Regions from separate parts of the Homo sapiens genome. Here region 1 is linked to region 2. The links are contacts of gene promoters, found by promoter capture Hi-C in blood cells and fetal thymus (Javierre and others, 2016). All regions are on one chromosome and are shown on one strand. The core of a region is centred on a gene start or on the middle of the fragment in contact, and the rest is flanking DNA. Distances in the headings are between cores, read along the strand shown.

The links. The method cuts DNA at HindIII sites, captures the fragments that hold promoters and counts their contacts. A CHiCAGO score of 5 or more calls a contact.
Region 1: a contact is called between a fragment that was not itself captured here and the fragment with the promoter of THOC7-AS1 in region 2, in 1 of 17 cell types (non-activated CD4 T cells). The highest score is 8.3, in non-activated CD4 T cells.

The regions. Positions count from the first base shown.
Region 1 is chr3:23,948,155-23,953,885 of GRCh38, forward strand. The region is part of intron 1 of NR1D2 (nuclear receptor subfamily 1 group D member 2); the gene reads left to right. Among named protein-coding and RNA genes, the nearest start is that of NR1D2, 5.7 kb to the left of the region's middle. RefSeq lists a silencer at 584-878. The HindIII fragment of the contact is 1,040 bases long and covers 1,581-2,620 here.
Region 2 is chr3:63,856,871-63,862,978 of GRCh38, forward strand. THOC7-AS1 (THOC7 antisense RNA 1) reads left to right here and starts at 3,775. Exons shown (of 2, transcript NR_104326.1): 1 at 3,775-4,126; 2 at 4,629-4,949. All of the region lies in intron 1 of THOC7 (THO complex subunit 7), which reads right to left. The HindIII fragment of the contact is 14,056 bases long and covers 1,621-6,108 here.

The DNA.
Region 1 (5,731 bases), core at 851-3,350, about 40 Mb before region 2:
GTAAACATTGACCAAGGTGGGGCCAGATTCAGCGCTGTGTGGCACACCTCTACCCTTCCCTCTAGTTTGGTTATCAGTTGACAAACATTCAACCAGTGATCCTGTAATCTTACTGTCCTTCGTGACATCTCTATGTCTCCTCGCCCCATGAGTAACAAGTGAAAACAGTGGAGTAAAAGACTTGGAAAAAAATTGGAGAGGTGGAGCAAAGAAATCTTTCCTTGGAGCAAGGAAAAGCAAGAATTGAAGAAAAGTTGCTCTACTGGTCAGTAGGGTTAAGAGATTCAAAAGGTAGTGTGGAAATAACCTACAAAGAAACCACTGGATCCTTAACACACATTAAAAAATGAGGTGAATAATGGGTAGGGAGGATTAGTTACTTTGGTTTGAACCATTCTGTTGGAACTCTTCTAGTATAATGATGACAAAAAAATAATCATCAGCTTCTTACTCTGTGCCAGGCCTTTTACATGTGTTCCTCATGTTAATTCCATGAAGGAAGGTGCCGTTGCCACCATCTTAATGATGCGGGGCTAAGTAAATTGAAGCTAAATAACTTACTCAGGCAAGTAGTAGAGCCAGAATTTGAATCCACAAAATTTACTTGGGAACACAAACTGTTAACTACTGTGCTATAATGTACTTTAGCCTGCATAATATTTGAAGATTTATACGCAACTTGGTGGTCCTGTCTTCTTGAGGGTGAAGGAGATACTGCATGTGTATGGATCCCCACTCAATTTGCAGTGATATATGTAGGTTATAGCTAGTGGAAAAGGATAGTCATCTGCAGGGCCTCCCAGTTTCATCAGTCCTCTCTTTAGTCATGCTGGCTTATTTCCAGACATTAGATTACACCTTGACCTCCCTTCTCCAGTAATTTACATGGAGATAAAAATAATGTCTATTTTATAAAATAAGACCGATTTGGCTGGGCATGGTGGCTCATGCCTGTAATCCTAGCAATCTGGGAGGCTGAGATGGGCAGATCACCTGAGGTCAGGAGTTCGAGACCAGCCTGGCTAACATGTGAAACCCTGTCTCTACTAAAAATACAAAAATTAGCCGGGTGTGGTGGCGGGTGCCTGTAATCCCAGCTACTTGGGAGACTGAGGCAGGAGAATCGCTTGAACCGAGGAGGCGGAGGTGGCAGTGAGTCGAGATCACACCATTGCACTCCATCCTGGGTGACAGAGCGAAACTCCGTCTGAAAAAAAAAAACAACAAAAAACACACCATTTATTTTTGTGTCACCCTATTTAAAAAATGTCTCTTTTGATGATTTAAACAGTCTTCAATTCCCCACTTAGATATTGCAACCTTGGATGTGTTTGCCCCTATTGATTTCTGCCCTCTTTAGTATGATCCTCAGCAGTCACAATCATGTGTGTGAAACATTGCTCCTAATAACATAGGTGTTTCCCCAGTTGGCCTATAAGGCATTTTAGGGAAAGGACCATGCTGTTCTCTGGAGCCCTGACACCTAGGACACAATTGGAATTTTAGTGCTTCAGTTAGATCTACTCTACCACCCTTGGAGTAGAAATTATTTATAACACTTTTAAAATGAGGGAAACTAAAGCTTCTTGGTGATAAAATGTTTTGTTCTAAGTCACAAGGCAGAAAAGTACAGTCATGACTTGAAGTCAAACATAATCTCCAGGATGGTGGACAGAGGAAGTGTGAGGGTTTTGATGATGGACAAGTGTAGAAAATGGGTAAGAAGACCCCAATATATGCAGGAATATCAGTGCTTCCTAGCAGTACAAAATTGGATATTGACTTAAGGCTTGTCTGAAGTTGACCACTGGGTAAGCCCTAGCCTGGGAACCTGGCCCAGGTCCAGGGTCCCTTTCAACTGAAAATAGAGAAGACTGCTTCAGCTAATTTTAGCTCAGGGTTTCAAAGAGGTACATACTGCCTGTTTCTTGGAGGTGTTGGGACTTGCTGGTTTGGGGATTTTTACTCTTCTTACTTTATCATCAAAAACAGTGTATGAAAAAAGCACTTATGAATGCCATTTCATTTCAGTCTTGTAATAAGTGGCAGATATTCCAATTTTATAGAAGACCACTCAGGTTTAGAAAGATTGAAAGTGACTTGCTTGCTCAGGTCTTCTCACCAAATAAGTTTGTACTCTGGAATTGGACAACCTTGACTTTAAACTTTGGCCTGCCACTTAGTGGCTGACTTATCCTCTCTGAGCTCCTTGTTTAAAAAATGATTTGATGAAAGTTAATTCACAGAGTTCTTCTTGTGAGGATGAAATTGTGTCATTTTATTCCTGACATCCAGTAGGTACTTGGTGACTTGTAGTTTCACTTTCCTTTCTTCATTAGGTTGAGGAACTACTAGATGTACTCCTTTTCTTCTAAGAAATTAAAATTTAACCCATTTGGGTTGCTATCAGTCAGGTTCATAGATGGGTGTCTAGTAGCAAGAATAGATGCCAAGACAACTAAATCAATATTGAAGGTCTTGCTAGGAGAATGCAGCTACTTCTAGATGGGTCTTCTTTGATTTTCTGGTGCCTGGCACAGATGCTTGTTTTCTTAAGACAGGAATTGGATCTTCGCTGGATTGATAATAGCCCAGTAGTTTCTTTTAGGTTGGATATTGAAGCTTTTGCAAAGGAAATTGTTTTTTGGTTAATTAATTACGATACAGTCCATTGCCCCGTCAGTGCTTGCAACCAATTTTTAAGCCATCTGCATAGCTCTAATTTCTTTTCTTTTCTCTTTCTTTTTCTTTTTTTTTTTTTTTTTTTGAGATGGAGTTTTCACTCTTGTTGCCCAGGCTGGAGTGCAATGGTGCCATCTCGGCTCACCGCAACCTCCGCCTCCCGGGTTCAAGTGATTCTCCTGTCTCAGCCTCCTGAGGAGCTGGGATTACAGGCATGCGCCACCACACCTGGCTAATTTTGTATTTTTAGTAGAGATGGGGTTTCTCCATGTTGGTCAGGCTGGTCTTGGACTCCCGACCTCAGGTGATCCGCCTGCCTCGGCCTCCCAAAGTGCTGAGGTTACAGGCGTGAGCCACTGTGCCCGGCCAGCTCTAATTTCTAAAAGTTTATTTCTTAGCTAAGGTAGTCAGCAGATCTTGTGAACATAAATGACTGAAAATGGGGGCCCTAGGAAAGTCTTACTTCCAAGGAAAAACATCACTTTCTTATCTTTTATTTTCCTGAGATGTTAGATGTGAATTTAGTACTTAAGACACTATTTTAGAGAAGACAAATAGCTGTGAGATCTTCCTTTGGAATTTCATTGAGGACTAAGAATATTTGTCTTTGTAAAGTGTCCTATTGTGAGTGGAGACATCTGTGAAAAAGTAGCAGTGTGCTAATACCTGGAATTTTTAATGTGGACTTAAGATCTCTAAAGTTATATAAAGACAGCACAATGGTTTTATCCAGTAACATGACACTGGCTAGGTTTCTAGGTTAAGTTGGTTTCTCTTTGGATTCACAGGGTATTAATGATATTCTGGCGGTTGTATCGATGAAATCATCAATCTTTAAAACTATGGGCCAATTTGTGTTTGAATTCACTGATTGTAGCCATTTTGAAACTTCAATGTGCAAATAATTGCTTGGAGAGCTTGTTAAAATTGCACATTCCTGAGGATGTGTTCTCGTCTGGGCAGGGCCTTGGAAACATGTATTCTGAAAAAGCACCAGCTAGTTTTGAGGATATGTATTTTACATAATTTCTCTGGGTGATGAAAATAAACTCGAAGTTGGGAATCTTTCTTCTTGTGTTTGTAGTTTTGGAGTTTTTAGATTTTAGAATAAATGGTAGATGAAAACTACCTTGGTCACTTTGTCTTCCAGGGAGCACAGATGAAGTAGTTGGCTTGTGGCAGTGTTCTTCAAACTTGGATGTGCATCAGAATCACCAAGAGGGCTTATTAAAGTTTCTGATCCAGTAGATCTGGAGCGGAGCCTGATAATTTGCATTTCTAACAGATTCTGGGTGATACTGATGCCCCTAGTCCAGGGCCCACACTTTGAGATGGTTGGTTTGTAGTTAGGGACCATGTTGCAGGAAAAATATTAATTGCAGGATTAATTAAGGTGAGATGCACATAGCAAGAGAGCATATGGACAGTGGGTTTAACTGGGAAGAGCAGATTTGCACCTCTCACCTCATGATCGAGTCCAGGCATAGGCTTCATGAATAAAACAGTGGATGGAATTGTCTACGTTAGTGATATTTTTGTCTTAAAAATCAAGTGCATATAGTTGAATTTATGTATGTTAAATTTGTGTCTGGGCTGGGCACGGTGGCTCACACCTGTAATCTCAGCACTTTGGGAGGTGGAGGCGGGCGGATCATCTGAGGTCGGAAGTTCGTGACCAGCCTGGGCAACATGGTGAAACCCTGTCTCTACTAAAAAAAAAACAAAAACCAAAAACAAAAATTAACCAGGCGTGGTGGCGGGCGCCTGTATTCCCAGCTATTCAGGAGGCTGAAGGAGGAGAATCGCATGAACCCGGGAGGCGGAGGTTGCAGTGAGCTGAGGTTGTGCCACTGCACTCCAGCCTGGACAACAGAGTGAGACTCCATCTCAAAAAAAAAAAAAAAATCGTGTCTGATGAAAAACATTGTGTGTTTCTTGGCATAGTAGGCACCTGTTTTATCTTCCCTTCTGGGTTGCACTCAAACCCCTTGAGAGTTGTGGTTGTGCTTTCCTCCTCAGAGGGTTTGTTTCTTAGCCTCAATATATATAATTGGTGCTTAAAAACACATCTGATATCTACTACATGACAGACTAAAAGTGACTCTAAATTTCTCTGCCTGTTTTTTTTTTTCTTGCCTAAAGACGGCAATGTCTGTCTTTTTGGGATTGTTTTGGCCTCAGCATTTTGCTTTGTGGATTTTTGTTTAAAAATGATTGATAGGCCCGGTGCGGTGGCTCACACCTGTAATCCCAGCACTGGGAGGCCAAGGTGGGTGGATCACCTGAGGTCAGGAGTTCGAGACCAGTCTGACCAACATGGTGAAACCCCATCTCTACTAAAAAAAAAAATACAAAAATTGGCTGGGGGTGGTGGCATGTGACTGTAGTCCCAGCTATTCAGGAGGCTGAGACAGGAAAATTGCTTGGACCCAGGAGGTGGAGGTTGCTGTAAGTCGAGATTGTGACACTGCACTCCGGCCTGGGTGACAGAGTGAGACTCTGTCTCAAAAAAAAAAAAAAAAAAAAAAAAAAAAATGCCAGTTTTCAGAAGGGTTGTGGCGGTTATATAAAATTGGGAATCACATTTTGACAATAGCTCTGTGTAGAGGGAATTAGCTTCAGCCTTACTGTTATTCTGGTATAGCATGCATTCTTCTAGCATCTTTAACACCTATAAAGAGCGAGTCAGAAGAACAAGTAGTGAGTCTGGATTTCTTAAGAGCTGCTTAGAGATGAATGGCAGAATGGGGTAGAGAAGGGAGAGTATTGAACTGGGGATTGGTTAGTGGATAGCCACATATGTCTTCTGGGAACACCAAAACAGAAAGGTGTGGGAGCAAGGGCTGTGAAACGATCCCTGTTTTGAGATAATTTACCTTATCTACCATTCTAAATGTTACATCTGTTCTGGATTAACCTGTGCTTCTAGCCAAGTGTTGGGGGAGGCAAATGATAAATTCATTGTTTCTAGGATTGTGTCAGATAACTATAACAGGAGGCAAAGAAGAGACCAGAACCAGATTTCTTCATGGCCAGTTTGTTTGAGCAA
Region 2 (6,108 bases), core at 2,525-5,024:
CCACGCCCAGCTAATTCTTTTGTATTTTTAGTAGAGACGGGGTTTCACCGTGTTAGCCAGGATGGTCTTGAACGCCTGACCTCGTGACCTACCCGCCTCGGCCTCCCCAAGTGCTGGGATTACAGGCGTGAGCCACCTTGCCCGGCCTCATTATAGATATTCTTATCCCTATTTTACCAATGAAAAAGCATCTTGCCAAAAATTAAATGTCACAGGAAGTAAGGAATAGAAATGGAACTCAAACTCAGGAGTCAGGCTCCAGAGAAGATACTTTTACCTTTTAGAGGCATTAAAAATCATTCTGGGAGAGGAATTATTACGGAAGGTAAAGAGGGGAAGGTTTTCATTTTTCATATTGTGCATTTCTTCTTGAATTTACTGACATGTAGTACTTTTTTTATGAAGTAGTAACAGTGGTTAACTGGGTGGTAAACTTATTTATCATTCTCAGGTACTTCATTTTCTCTGTATTAAAAATTCTACTCCGTTACTGAATAAAGCTATGATATGTTAACAACAACAAAGAAAACTGGCTTGATTTGACCTACTTTAAATGAACAAGAAGAGAGACTAAGGCCATGTAAAAAAAATGTTCATGCAGATTCCTGTAAGATTTATCGTTAGACCACCACAGCTCATGTTATTAAGATGAATCACACATATTAGCCCATTGTGTTACATTCCTTATGGTAAAATAACACCTGGTCCCTCCTTTCAAAAAGCTCAAAGCCATTAAAACAATTTTTAAGGTCAACAATATTAAGGAGACACATAAAAGGTGGGTGGAAGGAACAATAAGATGGTTTGATTCCTCCATGTAGATATTAACCTCTCCTAAGATACTTCTGACTGGTCTACATAAATTGCTGATGCCAAGGTAAATTACGTGCACCAAAATTAAATTTAAAATTTTAAAAGGAAAATAAATGCAAAACATCATGTTGAGGTCCTTTGTCTTTTCTCTCTATTTAAATGTTTAGAGTAGTATAGTGCTAATAAAGTCAAGGTGAAATGTCCATCTTGCTTTGAAAAACCAATTATCTTGGCTAAAGAAACATCATTTCATAGTTGAACTGCAGCAGTTATCCCTGTGTTGGGGCCACAGAAGATGGAAGAAAGTGGGCAAATGCAATGGCACTAATGAAAAAAAAACCCAAAAACAAAAGAACCCTGTGCCCACAAATGTCTAATTAACATTGGATCAGCAATTGAAATAGGAATAACAGCAGCAGCAAACACTTGCACAGCATTTATACCACCCTAGTTGGTGACCACACAACCCATTTGTTTCTTTTCACTCTGAAAAGTGTCCTGGTTTACACAATAAATTAAATGGTCACTCAACTTCAAAGTGCTTTACATATATTATCATGTTTCATCCTTGAAACAACTCTACAAAGTGTGTACTATTATCTTCCTTTCACAGATGAGTTACTACTCACCTCTGCATTCACAGAAAAATATATACAATTACATTATTAGAAAGTCATAATGCAGCTCCATTATTCTGTCATATTATTCGTAGGCATATTAAAAACCATTATTTCACATTGCAACAAGTACATATTCATGCATTACATTTTTCTAAGTTAAAAAAAAAAGCTACCGTCAAAACCAGCAAGCTTTATTAAATAGAATGTAGAGCCACATTCCACCCCAACCCCTTTCTCCATCTCTCATCTGTTGCTCTGGCATATCAATATATCACCTAATGTTCTCTGTAGTGCAAAAAGTGCTTCTGAAATGATTTCTATCAGGGTACTAACAATATTTAGCATCCTTTAAATTAACACATACAAAATACAGTTAACATAGTTTAAATTAACAGTGACAACATCCACACTGTTTTTCAGCTAGCCAGACTGCTAGAGTTGGCAACAAGGGAAGGAGAGAAAATGGCTTTGTCACAAACTACCTGTGTGACTGCAAGTCACTAACTTCCAAAGACCTCTACTTTTTCACTTATAACATGACAGTAGTGGTGAAAATATCCAGTCTAGTAGCTATAGCTACTCTAAAGCAGGGCAGTTCCTCAAACTGAGTGCAGGAAATAAAGGGCTGCTTCTTCAAGAGCTCCCAGTCCAACTGGATACGCAGACCCAGAGGAATGGATTACATGAAGGGACAGTGATACAGGCACATCAAATTTGTAAAAGACATTGGCTCTTATGTAAGCTCCATGGACAGGTACTGGTACTCCTCCAAGAGCTTTCCAGGAGGATGAATGAGATATCAAGAGCATCCACTTCTATCTTCCACACTAACATCGCTCTAATCCAAGCCCACATTTCTCTCATCTGGAATATTTTGCATTGGACTCCCTGTTTCCATTCTTGCCTTCCTAGAATCCATTTTTTATGCAACTCAGAATGATCTAAAAGATGAATTGGATCACTAACTCTCCTGCTTACAATCCTCCTATCATTTCTAAATGCCCACAAAGGACAATTCAGTCTCCTTTCCAAAGCCTGCAAGGCTCCTCCTGAGCTCCCTTTTACCTCCTTTTGCATCGTACTCCTCTTGGCCCACCTGGATGCAGTCCTGTCCCTAGATCCAGCCCAGTGGCTTTCCTTATTTCCTCTAAAGGGTGCAGAGCTTGTTTTCACCTCGGGCCTTTGCACTAGTTGTTGTCTCTATCTGGAATACTTTCCTGGGCTCTTCATGTGGTTGAACCTGTCAGGTATCACTGCCCTCCCCCATTACTCTCTGTCCTCATTCCATCAAGTTCATTCTCAGAACTTAATTACATTCCTTTTCAGAAATTATCTTATTTACTTATTTGATTGCACACTATGGCTTCTTTCCCCAAAGCAGGGGCCAGGGCCCTCCTCTGTCTAGTTCACTGCAAAGTAGCCAGGACCTCGCATTGTGCCTAGAAGGTATGCAATAAATACTTGTTGACGGATCACACATACCACTCATTTCAGCTTGATTTTTTCAAAAGCTCAGCTGACAAAAACCATGTTTATAGAGGATTGTCTGAAGAAGTTGTAGTTTGTCTTTCCTCTATGGTCTAGATATTCAATCAAAAAACCCTGATTTGAATCAAGCCAGATCAGCAGAGCTACCCACTACCCACCTAAACCACATTGTCCATTGATTTTATTTATTTATTTTTAGACAGGGTCTAGCACTGTTGACAGGCTGGAGTGCAGTGGTGCAATCATGGCTCGTTGCAACCTCAAACTCCTGGGCTCAAGTGATCCTCCTGCCTCAGCCTCCTGAGTAGCTGGGACTACCTACAGGTGTGTTCCACTCCACCTGGCTAATTTAAGAAAATTTTTAGTAGAGATGAGTAGCTGAGACTACAGGTGCACACCACCACACACGCCTGGCTAATTTGAAAAATTCTGTAGTATAGATCATGTCTTGCTGTGTTGCTTAGGATGGTCGCAAACTCCTGGGCTCACGTGATCCTCCTGCCTTAGCATCCCAAAGTGCTAAGATTGATTACAGGTGTGAGCTACCACACCCAGCCTCTACTGGCTTTAGAATGTCTTTCTAAATTGTGATTTAGCCTTCTTTTACCTAGCAAGGGATGTGCTACAAAACAGCTCTATGATCTTCAGTGCTGAAAAGAGGTTAAGGATATGACACTGGCTTTCATTTATAAAGACCTCAATGATAAACTTTTCCTCTAGTTCAAATCAGAAAAAAAAAGTGCTTTTCCTGGGCATCTAAGATTGCCTTCTCTCATGAACACTAGATCACAGAGCAGACGAGGTCCTGCCTCTCAGAATGGCCTACTGGAGAAACAGGTCACTTACAGCTTGGTTAATTAATGTACTAGACTTTATCCTCCTGCATTTTGAGGATCACCCCACTTCTGACTTCCCTTTATTTTTCCTAATCTCAATGTTCTTTTTGTCTTGTTTTCTAATCCGTTTAATTTTTATATTTTCTCATTACAGTGAACTGCCTTAAATGTTTTCTAGCATAAGGCATATAAATAACGTATTAAGGGTGACAGCAGCAATATGCATAAAATAATATGGCTAGTAGGCAGAAGGTCAACTACTTCTAGGAAAGAAAAGAGGGGATTTTTGAGGTGGGTCTTGAGGAATAAGTGGAGTGTCACCTGATAGAAAAGGCAGGAAAAGGCAACCTGTGCAGATTAAGAGAGAAGGCAAAGTCCACATCAAAGGAAAGTGGAAGACAGATTAGTAAAACAACTCTGACATTAATATTTACTGAATATTAATTATTATGTGTTGGACTCAATGCAAAGCCCTTTACAACTTTTTGTGTTTAATCCTCAAAACAATCCGCTGATGTGGATTTTATTATTATCTCCGTTCAGAGACTGAAGCTGAGACAGTCTGTAAGTGGCAGGGTAGAGATTCCTGTGGCTTTTAAGGATGTGGGGGGGCACTTGACTGCAGTCATTACTTTAGAACTCATCTTCTGTCCCTATCTCCCATCTGACAAAGCCTGTTGCTCCTTTGGACATCTCAATCTCAATAAATAGAAAAGTAGCACTAACAGGCACACAGTGAAGTCAAAAACCTGGGATCATCCTAAATCCCTTCTCCCACCATCCATTCAATACCTGAAGTCCTGACATTCTACCTCACAAATTTCCCTATTTCCCTCCCACCTGTCCTCTTTGCATTCCCTCTTGGTCACAGTCCTCATTGTCTCTCACCAGGGCCACTGCAGAAGTAGCAGACACAGGACGCATAATAGTGAAGAGCAGGAACTCGGCAGGTGGTCTCCCTGCCTTTGACCCTCTATAACTACTATCTGTGCGACCTTAGGCAAGCTAACCTGTGTCTGTTTCATCTGTAAAATGGGGATAACAATTAGAATAATACCTAACAGCACTACGTAAACGTTAGTAAGTGGCGAGGAAACTTAGCTCCTCATTTTCTCTTCCTCTAATCATTCTGCACATAACAGAGACAGTGTGTATGTGTGTGTGTGTTTTTTTTTTTTTTAATGAGACACGGTCTCACTCTGTCACCCAGACTGGAGTGCACTGGCGCGATCTTGGCTCACTGCAGCCTCAACCTCCCAGGCTCAAGTGATCCTTTCTCCTCAGACTCCCAAGTCCTGGGACTACAGGTGTGTGCCACTGTGCCAGACCAATTTTTTTGTATTTGTAGACATGGGGTCTCACTATGTTTTCCAGGCTGGTCTTGAACTTCTGAGCTCAAGAGGTCCGCCTGCCTTGGCCTCCCAAAGTGTTGGGATTACAGGCGTGAGCCACTGTGCCCGGCATGTGTGTGTGTTTTAATGCCAATCTGATTAACACCACACCAGTGTTAAAACTTTTAATGGATTCCTATTGCCCTTAGAGATCTCTGGCTCATAACTTTCTAAATTCTAGCAATACTTGTCAGCTTTGAGTTCTTCCAACATCTTGGGGTCTTTATACAAGTGGCTACCAACCCAGAACACCAGTCCAATATCTATTTATTCTTCAAAAATGGGATTAACTTCGAGGAGGCTTTCTCATTTCCATTGATTGGATAAATAATCTTTGTTACATGTTCCTACAGTTCCCAACCTTGTACTTCCTTGTGGTAATATTTGTCACTCTTAAAACTCATTAGTCAATGTTTCTTTCCCTTCAGACCAAAATTTTGGAGAGGGAAAAGTTCTTGCTTGTTAGTTCTGGGTTGTAATCCCAAAGCCTAGTCCAGGAAGGATAAATATCCACTAAATAAATGAAACTGGAATGAAGCAAAGCTGAAATTCCACATGAAGTTCCTGGGTCTTTAGTAGCCTCCCACCTCCACTACTCTTTATCAGTCTGGAAATTTGGGCCTATCACTGTTCTTCCCATGGCCAGGCCCTTTAATGTGGAGACCCTGGTGGTCTTCAACTCTTAAGAAGTGGCCTCTCCACAGGCATTTACAGTTACCGGTCACCATCTCCTGAAAAACACCCAAGAGCCCTAGATATCCCCTTCCCAGATATCAAAGGACCTCCTTCCTCCCTAACCAGATACCTTGTAGGTTCTCCCTCCAGTTGCCAATCATGCCCCTTCCCCCAAAGTGTCACCTTATTTCCGCTCTCAGTCCATAGACCATCTCCCTTAGACTGTCCACAAACCCAGCCTTTGCCCCTCTAAATTCATCCCAGCTGACAACCACCCTTCCTAAC